Regions from separate parts of the Homo sapiens genome. Here regions 1, 2 and 4 are each linked to region 3. The links are contacts of gene promoters, found by promoter capture Hi-C in human tissues and cell types (Jung and others, 2019). All regions are on one chromosome and are shown on one strand. The core of a region is centred on a gene start or on the middle of the fragment in contact, and the rest is flanking DNA. Distances in the headings are between cores, read along the strand shown.

The links. The method cuts DNA at HindIII sites, captures the fragments that hold promoters and counts their contacts. A contact is called where the count stands out against the background at its distance.
Region 1: a fragment that was not itself captured here is called in contact with the fragment with the promoter of RBFA in region 3 in 2 of the 25 tissues and cell types used here (IMR-90 fibroblasts and lymphoblastoid cells).
Region 2: a fragment that was not itself captured here is called in contact with the fragment with the promoter of RBFA in region 3 in 5 of the 25 tissues and cell types used here (dorsolateral prefrontal cortex, mesenchymal stem cells, mesendoderm cells and 2 more).
Region 4: a contact is called between a fragment that was not itself captured here and the fragment with the promoter of RBFA in region 3, in 2 of the 25 tissues and cell types used here (adrenal gland and dorsolateral prefrontal cortex).

The regions. Positions count from the first base shown.
Region 1 is chr18:80,084,321-80,087,272 of GRCh38, forward strand. No RefSeq gene overlaps it. Among named protein-coding and RNA genes, the nearest start is that of RBFADN, 19 kb to the left of the region's middle. The HindIII fragment of the contact is 9,158 bases long and covers 1-2,952 here.
Region 2 is chr18:80,067,141-80,069,885 of GRCh38, forward strand. RBFADN (RBFA downstream neighbor) reads left to right here and starts at 116. Exons shown (of 4, transcript NR_103445.2): 1 at 116-168; 2 at 2,658-2,745. The HindIII fragment of the contact is 4,600 bases long and covers 1-2,745 here.
Region 3 is chr18:80,032,979-80,035,754 of GRCh38, forward strand. RBFA (ribosome binding factor A) reads left to right here and starts at 1,456. Exons shown (of 7, transcript NM_024805.3): 1 at 1,456-1,675. The coding sequence starts at 1,518. It also overlaps a transcript of TXNL4A not described here. RefSeq lists silencers at 742-911, 943-1,099, 982-1,301, 1,312-1,391, 1,502-1,651. The HindIII fragment of the contact is 12,317 bases long and covers 1-2,776 here.
Region 4 is chr18:79,973,773-79,976,824 of GRCh38, forward strand. It overlaps TXNL4A (thioredoxin like 4A), which reads right to left. Exons shown (of 3, transcript NM_006701.5): 3 at 1-84. Among named protein-coding and RNA genes, the nearest start is that of HSBP1L1, 11 kb to the left of the region's middle. The HindIII fragment of the contact is 3,685 bases long and covers 1-3,052 here.

The DNA.
Region 1 (2,952 bases), core at 357-2,856, 51 kb after region 3:
CCTAAGAATTGGAACGGGAATCACTGGGTGGATTGTGATGCAGATGAGAAACTGGAACCTCAAATTCCACATCATCTTCCTTTTGCTGTTGAAAGCCAGTGCTCTTTTCCCACCTGAGTGGATCAGCCTCCCCTTGTGGAAGACTTTGTAATGTTCTCATTGAGGCAATTAGCTTGCAAGAGCAGGTCATTCTCAAAGCAAACCCAAAACCTCTTGCTGCCTCCAGACCCATCACCACAGTCAGATCCCTGCACACCAAGGGGGATGAATGCGAAATCTGACTGGGGGAAAGAGGCTTATACAACATTTTTTCCTGGCCAGGTGCATTGGCTCATGCCTATAATCCTAGCACTTTGGAAGGCTGAGGGGGAAGATTGCTTGGGCCCAGAAATTAAAGACAAGCCAGAGGAACAAAGGGAGATCCCATCTCTACATGTAACTTAAAAATTAGTCAGGTGTGGTGGTGCACACCTGTGCTTCCAGCTACTCAGGAGGCTGAGGCAGGAGGATTGCCAGAGCCCAGGAGGTCGAGGCTGCAGTGAGCCATGATCATGCCACTGCACTCCAGCCTGGGTGACAGAGCAAGACCCTATCTCAAAAAACAAAAACAAAAAAAATGATTCTTCCTAGTTATCAGTAGAAACATGAGTAAAGTGTGTAAAAATGAATTTTATTGGTATTGGAGAAGGAGGAAAACTGCTAGATTGGGCTGAATTTATTGATACACGTGTTCTTGGCAGATATTCTGGACTCCATGTGTTAGTGTGAGTAGTTGGGAAGACTGTTTGCTTAGTTAGTTGATGGGCCTGGAGATGTGGTTTGGATCTGTGTTTCTGCCCAACTCTCTTGTTGAATTTTAATCCCAAATGTTGGAGGTGGGGCCTGGTGGGAGGTGATTGGATCATGGGGGTGGATTTCTCATGAACGGGTTAGCACCATCCCCTCGGCACTGTACTCATGATGGTGAGTACTCACGAGATCTTGTTGTTTAAAAGTGTATAGCACCTCCCCCTTGCTCTCTCTCTTGTTCCTGCTCTGTAAGACGTTCCTGCTCCCCCTTCACCTTCCGCCATGATTGTAAGTTTTCTGAGGCCTCCCCAGAAGCCAAGCAAATGCCAGCATTGTGCTTCCTGTACAGCCTGCAGAACCATGAGCCAATTAAACTTATTTTCTTTATAAATTATCCAGTCTCAGGTATTTCTTTAGAGCAATGTGAGAAAGGACTAATACACCTGGCACTGGCATCCTTTGTTCTTGGCAGCACTGCTTCTAAAGAGCAGTGAGCACTTAGGACCCCTCCTGGGAGTAGAAGTTCCCATCCATCCATTGCTTAGGAAAAGCAACGGGTCAGGCCCTCACTCACTCTCTAGAACAGACTACAAACATGCAAATTAGAATTCTTTTAGAAAAACATAGCTGGAGTAGTTTGTGGCCACATTAAATGAAGTTGAGATCCATCACTTGATTTAATGTACAGGAAAGAATTTAAAGGCTTAAGGAGATAGAAATGATGTTGATTTATCAAGTGAGTCCTGCTCAAGCATCTTCTCACTAGGTTCTGCTAAGGGAGTATTGAGCACCATCTTTATGAAAGCATGGAGAAACATACTGATATGGTTTGGCTGTGTGTCCCCACCCAAATTTCATGTTGCATTGTAATCCCCAGTGTTAGGGGAGGGACCTGGTGGGAGGTGACTGGATCATGAGGGCAGATGTCCCCCTTGCCGTTCTCATGATAGTGAGTGAGTTCTCATGAGAGCTGGTTGTTTAAAAATGTGTAGGGTTTCCTTCTTTGCTCTTCCTCCTGTTGTCATGTGATGATGTGCTTGCTTCCCCTTCGCCTTTTGCCATGATTGTAACTTTCCTGAGGCCCCCAACCCCAGCCATGCCTCCTGTACAACCTGTGGAACTGTGAGCCAATTAAACCTTTTTTCTTTATAAACCACCCAGTTTCAGGTAGTTCTTTATAGCAATATGAGAACAGACTAACTCAAATATTAATGAAGGGAGCACTGGTATCCTTGCAGAACTCATATAAACCACTTCTGCTTCATAAGGGACTACTGCTGCACATGCCCAATTTGACACCTCCCCTGCCCCAGCCTGCAGTGGTTCTCTGGTGAGCATCCCTGATCCAGCATTCCAGAGCTAAGCCTAGCTAGTGCTTCCTGATTGAGTACGAAGAGCTCTGGAGAAAGGTGACTCATTTCATGTGTAACTACAAGGCAGCAAAGCTTCTCTGCACACACGAAATGAAGAAAAAAATAACATTTCTTTGAGATGCAAGTGAACTACCAGCAAATCTAAGGAATGTGTGTGTGTAGCCGCAGACAGCAGCATACCTGTCTTTACGTATGCTAACCCTTTGCCTTGAAGGCATTTATTCTAGTCTGATGGTCTAAAACCCTATTTCTTTTTCAAGATTCAGGTCTGGTCTCATCTTCTTTAGGAAAAGTTTTCCTATTTTTTTTCCCCTCCCCATCCTGCTTCTCCTAGAAGATCCAGTATAAACATCTATTGCTTGTTGTCAGCATGAATTCTCTTGTCTGTCCTTCTCACTGACTGCCTTCTCTATAACAAGGAGCAGTGATGCTCAATAATTGTGAGTTGAATGCGTAACAAGATGTGACAAAATCTCTATTACAAAAAGGTGAAAAAGTCAGCATAAAAGGCATTGTTTTTGTTTCACTTTACTATTTGGATGAGATGTTCAGATATAAACTATCTGAAAGATTACATAATTTATTAGGAGCTAATAAACAAGGATTACTGCAAAGGGGATAAAAAGAAAATAAAGGAAAGAGAAAGTTTCTATTTAATTCCATTTTAAATCTTCTAATCTGCTTTCCTACTCTGACCTAATTTATAGTAATGTAGCCTCAGCGTAAAGACAATCATATCAAAATTTGAATTTGCTCTGTAGAGTAGAAAAATTTTATGAGCAGTGTAAAA
Region 2 (2,745 bases), core at 161-2,660, 34 kb after region 3:
GACAGAGAGGCGTAGGCACTGAAGGCTGCAGCTGTGATTGAGGATCACGACGCCTGTTGGGGCTGCTCACCTGCCTAGGCCTGGGTGAGGAGGTGCTGGGGCCTGGCTGCACACACGTTCCTGCCCCAGAACTCAGTTGGGGGCTCGGAGCAGGAGAAGCTGCACACGGTGAGTGTGTGGGGCGCAGAAGCCCGTCTGCAGAGGTTCCACACCATGCAGAAAGTGGCCAGTGAAAGACAAGGAGGTGTTCCCGGGAGTGGAAGGGCTGGGGCCTGGAGAAAGGGGAGATGGGAGGAGTTGGGGGCTACAGAGGACACCACCCCTGGAGCTGGCAAGCATGGCAGGAAGGGGAGAGTTGAGCCGAGAAGGGCGGCCAGGGCAAGACGATGACCTGGAGTGGGGGCCCCAGAGGTCCTGCTCAGGGGCCTGCAGACCAGTATGCCTGGAAGATTCTGCAGGCCGATTATGAGGCCCACCAAGGTAGGCAGCCCCCTTCCAGGGCCGTCCTTCAAGCTTGGTAACTGTGTGGGAACAAACAAGACCTGTTGGGTGTCCAGTTCTGCTCTTGCTGCAATTCTGAAAGTCGACCATTTAAAGACTGTTATATAAACATAATCTTTTAATGAGAAATACTTCCCTTGTATTGTTTTTTTGAACTCTTGACTTAGTGTAGTATAGGATCTGGAAATAAGAAAACTGGATATCTCGGAAGAGAAATATAACAGCTTGTCTGTTTTCTTCTATTGCACAACTTAAATATGCTACAGTTAAGTGGGTCAAAATCTACCTGGAGGTGAAAGCTGGGTGGATGGGGGTCCATTCCTCTGTGAACTGGGGATGGCAACGCAGTCTCCAAAGGGTAAGAGCAAACGGACAGGCCTGGAGGGCGCAGCTCAGATGCACCCGTTGGCAAATGGACAGGCCTGGAGGGCGCAGCTCAGATGCACCCGTTGGCAAATGGACAGGCCTGGAGGACCCAGCTCAGATGCGCCCGTTGGCAAACGGACAGGCCTGGAGGGTGCAGCTCAGATGTACCTGTTGGGCTTTGGCTGTTTTTGTTGCACACAAAGGTCTGGGAGGAGCACAGAACCCTCCCTGAGGATGAGATTATGGAGGTTGTAGCGTTGAGGAGGTTCAGGTGCTGCCTTATATACTTTTATGTAGTGTGAATTTTTCAAGAAAGGTATTGTTTTTGTAATGTAAGAAAAGATTCCATATTGAGGAGAGTAAGTAGATCTGACAGGTGTGCAGCCTTAGGCATTAGTTATTAAATACATATTCATTTAATTAAAACTCAAAAATTTAAATGTTTTCCTCCTCATTAGAATATGCCATTCCAAAATATCACCATATTATTCTATCTCCCAAGAACTCTGTCCTCAGTATGGCTCCCGGTAGAATGAGGGTGAGACGTTGAAATGTGGACGTATCATCACTATAAAAGTTACATGTGGCAAATGTAGTTTCTAATCCCTGCTTTTCTTTCATTTTCTTAGTTATTAGCATCATTCTCCCTGATGCTTCTCGATCACAGAAGTGGCCACTGTCTTACTGGATTAGGCTCTAATCCCCATGCCCTTGGCCAAGTCAGATTTACCCTTCGAGTTCACTGTTGCCTGTTGGGATGGCCCTGCCCTGGATCTGTGGAATGAGCAGCCGCTCCTGTTTGCACCAACTGAAATCCTCTCTTCTGCTTGAAATTTTTGGTAGCCTTGCTGGCAGCTCAGAATGAGGCTCAGTTAGGACGGGGAGCTCATGAACCCCAGGGTGCAAGTACTGGATGTGGTCCTAACTAGCAAGGGCTCCAGAAAGGGACACAGTGAAAGAAAAGGAAAAGGAGTTATTTTTCTGCTATTGGAGAGGTGACAAATAACATGTTTGAAAGCAGCGTTGTTGTGACATGCCCTTCTGCATTGCTGGCGGGTGGGGTGTCCTCCCTAGGGGAGTGGCCCGTGGTGTCTGCTGGAATCCCAAACACATTCGCCCTTTGACCCAGCCATACCCTTGTGGGGACTTACCCTGCACCCTATTCTCTGCGGGAACACAATGGGAATGAGGAAAAGTCACGGTTGTAACCAGAGCAGTATTGTGAAGATGAACCTTTTAAACAAAATTCTAAAATATTAAAATCAATATGAATACTCTGTAACTTCAGAGAATCAGGTCTGGAATAATAATATTAATAAGAGCGAATATCTAGTAAGGGCTGAATTCCCTGGGTGCCCAATATGGACTTAGTTGTGTCCCACTCAGCTAGATAGGCCCAGTACAGGAAATTTCTTTCTTTCAGAGCCTTTTAAACATCAGAATGGCATGTTTTTCTTAAATGGGCAGATCCTTCTATTCTCAAATTGCAAAGCAAAATGTAGATGGAATGAAAAATCTGTAAGGGGGGCAAACAGCATTCTGGTCATACCTCTTTTATTTTCATTTTTATTTTTATAACTATTGTTTTTATTAGAGACAGGGTCTCTCTGTGTTGCCCAGGCTGATCTTCAATTCCTGGCCTTAAGCAATCCACCCGCCTCAGCCTCTCAAAGTGCTGGGATTACAGGCGTGAGTCCCCGCACCCAGACTGTCTCTTTTATTTTGAATGCTAGGTTAGGGTGGCATTTGTAAATACCATGGTAAATTCCTTTCTCTTTTTCTCTTTCAAGGTGGATGAAGACCTGATCATTGAAGTTCACCAGTTATTTTTCTCAAGAATGTGAATAACAATGGGATTTGCACTCATTATATTTTTAG
Region 3 (2,776 bases), core at 206-2,705:
CTCTGCCCGTTTGTTTGTGAAAACTCTGCTTCTCAATACTCCGCCCTTTCCCCTTTAAATCTGGGGCCCTCAAAATCATTTTTGGAGAAAGGCGTAGACCTGTCTCCTGGGTGCGTCCTTAACTTTGGCAAATAAATCTCCTAAAATGATTAGAGACTTGTCTCGTCGTTTTCTTCGATTGACAATATATACACACATACATACGCATACACACACACATATATACGCGCACGCACATGCACACATATACATGTCCACACACATGCACACACACGTACATATGCACACATACACATGTACACATCCACACGCGCCCACACACACACACACACACAGACGTGTCTCACACCACAGCAGCCGCCTCGGGGGAGTCACAGCCCACGCATCCCCAACACTGCGGTCGCGCTCACTTCTCTTTCCACGCCCGGGGGGAGCAGCTTCCCCGCTGGGCCACGCTGACTCTGGGGAGGCGGGCGGGGCGAGACCACTTCTGGGGAGGACGCCCAATCTGGGGACTTTCTCTAGGTGCCCGGGGAGAAGGCGGCGCAGCAGCAAAGCCCTGGAGGGCCCAGTGGCGGAAACAGACGGACCCCTCGCAGCCTCCCGCCGACAGCGGCCCTGCCCAGGTCTCCAGGCTTCGATGCCTTCGTTGCTTTGTGCGGCGCACCCGCCTACGTCAGTTCCCAGTATTTAAACAAAACGTGTTCCTAGCTACGCAGCGCCAGGCAACCAGGCGGTTCCCACGCTTCCCCGAGTGGCACACCCTCCGCGCAGCCCACGCGGCCTCCCCACGCCCAGCTCCCGCCGGCCCCGCCTCGCGTCGTCCTTCGCCCCGCCCCCGTTGCCGCCCCCCCCGCCCGCACACTGCCCACCTGGCGTTGTCTTCACCCCGCTTACACGCCGCTCGCTTCGCTCTGGTAGTCGCCCACCTCGCGCTGCCCTTCTCGCTTCAGTCTTCGCCCTGCCCACCCACCGCCCACCTCGCGCCAGTCTTCGCCCCGCCCATTCACCGCCCGCCTCGCGTCAGTCTTCGCCCCGCCCAACCACCGCCCGCTTCGCGTCGGTCTTCACCCCGCCCACTCGCCGTTCGCCTCGCGCCTTCGCCCCTCCGCCGTTGTCGCCCCGCCCCTTCTTGCGTCCAGTCTTTGCCCCGTCCCTCGCCGTCGCCCCGTCCACACGCCGTCAGCTTCGCGTCTGTCCTCGCCCCGCCCACCTACCGCCCCCCTCGGGCCTTCGCCCCTCCGCCGTCGTTGCCCCGCCCGCCTTGCACCCCGTCTTCGTCCCGCCCCGCGCCGTGGCCCCGCCCACACGCCGTCAGCTTCGCGTCTGTCCTCGCCCCGCCCTGCATCATCGCCCCGCCCTGCATCATCGCCCCGCCCACACGCCGCCTGCCAGGCGTGAGTCTTCCTCCCGCTCTGCGCCGTCGCCCCGCCCACACGCCGCCACCCTCGCGTCAGTTGTCGCTCCGCGCCTGCGCCCGTTGTCTCCCTGCTCGCTCCGGGTCCCGGCGCCGCGCCATGTGGGCTGCGGCGGGCGGGCTGTGGCGCTCCCGCGCGGGTCTCCGGGCCCTGTTCCGTAGCCGCGATGCTGCGCTATTTCCAGGCTGCGAGCGGGGACTTCACTGCTCTGCTGTCTCCTGCAAGAACTGGCTCAAGAAATTTGCCTCGAAAACCAAGTAATGCGGCGGGGGCGGTGTCCCTGGGCGCGGTATTCCCTAGGGGGCGGTGTCCCCGGGTTGCGGTGTCCGCTCATCCGCGTTCTTGCGCCCATGCGGCCTAGCTCGCCAGTTCCTGCCTCCTGGGGTCTGCAGCAGTTCTAGCTCTCACTGTCAGCATTTGCAGCTTTTGTGTTCGTGGACGTGTGTCGGGTTAAGAAAACAAAGTGACAATGTGTGTTTATTTTGATTCTTGTCACCAGACGTATTTTTCAGAAGATTAGTTTCAGAAAATGAGGAAAAATGAAAAAATATAAGAATTTCCTTGCTAATGTTGACTTTCTGTGTGAATTTGAAGACTAAAGCTTGTCATGATAATTAGTGTTTTTAAATTATGAAAGATAAGTACAATAAAATACATTGACTTTTCACACTGCTTTTAGTTCTTCTAAGTATGGTAGGTGGTTGTATGTTTTCTACTTTAATACACTACTTTTAAAGACAGTTTTAGACCCTGCAGAAAAATTGCAAAAATAGTACCGCGTTCCTGTGTCCTGGCACCCAGCTCCCCCTGTGTTAGCGTCGGACTTTAGCTTCCAACGTGTTCCAGTTAATGAGCCGATATTGATAAGAGTGTTGCTAACTGAAGCTCATACTTTATTCACTTTTCCTTGGTTCTGCCTGCTGTCCCTTCCTGTCCCAGGTGCCCACCCAAGGTCCACGTTACATTGAATTGTCTTGTTTCCTTAGGCTGGGGTAGTGTCCCAGACTGTCCCTGGTTTTGATGGCTGTGCCAGTTTTGAGGGGTACTGGTCAGGTGCTTTGCAGGATGCCTCTCTGTTGGAATGTGCCTGTTTTTTTAATGCTTAGACGTGGATTATGGCTTTTGGGGAGGAAGACTACAGAGGTAAAGGCCATTCTCATCGCACCGTATCCAGGGTCCACGCTGGCCGTGATCCCCTGCATGAGGTGCTTGCCAGGTTTCTCTACCGTAAAGTTACTCTTTTTGCCCCCTTTCCTTACTGTACTCTGGGAGAAAGTCGCTGTGTGCAGCCCATGCCTAATGAGTGGGGAATTTTGCTCATAAGTGGTTTGCATTCTGCACAAGGGATATGTCTCTTC
Region 4 (3,052 bases), core at 1-2,500, 59 kb before region 3:
TCCACCATCTCCTGCTTGTCCTCCATGGCCCAGTTAATCTTGTTGTTGTTGCCAGTCCCCAAGTCAATCATGATGTGCTTGTTCCTGCAACGAGAAACAAGGGCATCCATTCTCATAGAAGTCTCTTTAAAAAAGAATTCCTTGAAAACAATGCCGTATTTTTCCCACTGTGACAAGCTCTTGTTAACATCACTGAAGAACGCATAAAATCGAGAGTGTATGCCATGATGCAGGAGAATACAGGAAGCAGCTAAATGTGTTTTTAAAGATGCAATGCATTGTCCACCATGCTCTTTCCTGCATTTTTCTGTATTTATTTAGGACAGTTATTCTAAGGGGAAATTAAAAGGTCAAAGGAGGGCAGGCGCAGTGGCTCATGCCTGTAATCCCAACTCTATGGGAGGCTGAGGCAGGAGGATCACTTGAGGCCCGGAGTCCGAGATCAACATGGATAACAAAATGAGACCCCCATCTAATTTGTACTAATTTACCTGATAAAAGCAATGTGTAAGTTTTTCACAGTGCTCTTATGAGCAATGACATAAATTGTATTAAAAGCCCTTCAACTATGAAATGAAGATGACATTTTGCATGTTTATGGTTAGGGAAGTAGATAATTCTTTACTTATCTTTCAAGAGACTAGTTCTTTTCCTCATGAATACTCATGTGCACTTTACAAGATAAGGATATTAACCCTTTGTTGTACTGGCATAAATTTATCCTGGTTTGTTGAAGTTTCTTTTTGAGATGGGGTCTCACTGTCATCTAGGCTAGGGCATAGTGGCAAAATCAACCTCCTGGCCCAAATGATCCTCCCACCTCAGCCCTCTAAGTAACTGGGACCACAGGCACGAGCCACCACACCCAGATAAATTTCTAGTTTTTTGTAAAGATGGGGTGTCCCCATGTTGGCCAGGCTGGTCTCAAACTCATGGCCTCAAGTGATCCTCCCACCTCGGCCTCCCAAAGTGCTGGGATTACAAACGTGAGCCACTGTGCCGGCCTGATTATTTTTCTTAGAGATGCGAGCTATGTTGCTAAGGCCGGACTCAAACCCCTAGCTCCAGTCCCACCCCGGCCTGCAGAGTGGCTGGGCTGCAGGCATACCCCACCTAAAGACTGTTTTTTAACGTTCACTTCCACAAGATCATGCATTTGGCTTCCACCTACTATTCCGTAGAAAGTATTCCCCGTGAAGTCTCTGGTTCAGGAGAGGCAAATCTGATCAGGGTCTGGAGCCCACCTCTGGCCGCCCTCTCATTCTCCATGCTGCAGGCAGGCCCTACATGCAGCATGCACCAAGCTCCTTCTACAATGACTGGGGGCTGCCCGTAGCACCCTCCCTGCAGCCCTATCTGACCTGGGTGTACTTCTTCGGTATTTATATCTCATAAACATCTGCCTCCTTTCACTTCTTCAGAACCCCCTGCTAATTTACTCAGCTGTTTCTATCAGACAACGTCCTATGAGAGTGGGAATCCTGTCTTATCTGACATTAGGCTCCACCACTAGACCACAAACCTGGTGGGGGCTCAAGATATATGTTTGGTGCATAAGTTAACTAAAGTACCGTTTGTCTTAAAATTCTAAATCACAGAAACAGCAGAAGGAAGTTTCATCTCCTTTTCTGAGTACAGCATCAGTCCTAAAAATATCAAACTACACTAAGTAGGCTGCTCCCGCCACCCAAGGCTGTTGCCTGCAGCCTCCTTGCCCCTCACAGCATCTCCAGCCCCAGGCTGGCCTCCACTGCACGCTGTGGGGGGCAGAGACCTAAGACGGCCCTCCCTGTTCTCACCTGAAGAATTCTGAGGGGCAAAATAGAAAAGGCCTCTATTGCCTCGAACAGGCTGTTAACAGAAATATGGACTTCAGGAACACCTGGTGTGGGCTTGGAAGGAAGTGAGGAGTGTGTTACTGGGAAACGGAGAAAAGGGGACCCCCGTTACAGAGTGGCCGAGGAACAGGGACACGGGGTCCGCAGTTATAGGAAGTCAGAGCTCAAAAGCAACACACTCGGGATATTTAGCTGCGGAAACTTCCAAGCAAAGTCTCGGAGGTGCTGCCTTCAAGAGAGGAAAGAGGCAAATTAGTGTAAGAACTGTTAACAAAAGGAATAAATTCTTTAGCCTCTCCGGATGGCCAAAGGGGCTGAAATTCAGAAATGGCTGCTGAACACACAGTAGAGAAAAGGATGAGGGTCAGCCACGCAACCTTTGCTGAAACCTAGGAAAGATGAAAAGTTCACAAGAAATGCAGGGTGCACCTCACAGATCTTCTCAACCTAACAGGAGGCACCTAGGAAGCCAAGGGCGTGTCCAGGGGAGCGTATCCCGACGCCCAGAACCACGGCAGTGCCTCACGCTTTGGCAGCCTGAGGCGGGAGGATGGCTCGAAGCCAGGAGTTCAAGCTTGCTGTGATGGTGCCACTGCACTCCACCCTGGGTGAGAGTGAGACTCCATCTCAATAAATAAATAAAACAAGGTCACTATCCTGGATTATTTGGGCAAGTCTAATCTTATCACAGTCCTCTAAAACCAGAGCATTTTCTCAGGCAGAACTTTTCAGGTCAGAGAACCTGTGTGAAAAGTTCTCAATGTGCCGGCATGCCAGTGCTGGCTTTGAGGGTAACTGGGTCTCTGGCAGCAGAGTGGCCTCAGGTAACAGCAGCAAGGAAGCAGATCTCAGACCCACCACCACGAAGAGCCAGACTCGGCCCACAACCCAAACAAGCCCCTCAAACACTCCAGATAAGCACCCAGCCCATGGTTCAGACCTTGTGAGACCCTGAGCAGGAATCCAGCGGGCCCTGCCTGGATGTCTGACTTACAGAACTGTGAGCTCAGAAAAGCGGGGTGATTTAAGCTGCTCAATGCGTGCTAATTTGTTACAAAGAATACAAAACTAACGCATACCCTATACAACCCACCTGACCTTCCTTACCGAGTAGGAGGCTCCACTTTTGGAGAATGGTCTAATGCTCATGTAGCTAATTCACCAACCTCTATGGTAACTAAACAAGTAAAAACAGCATCAGATGGTGATTTCTT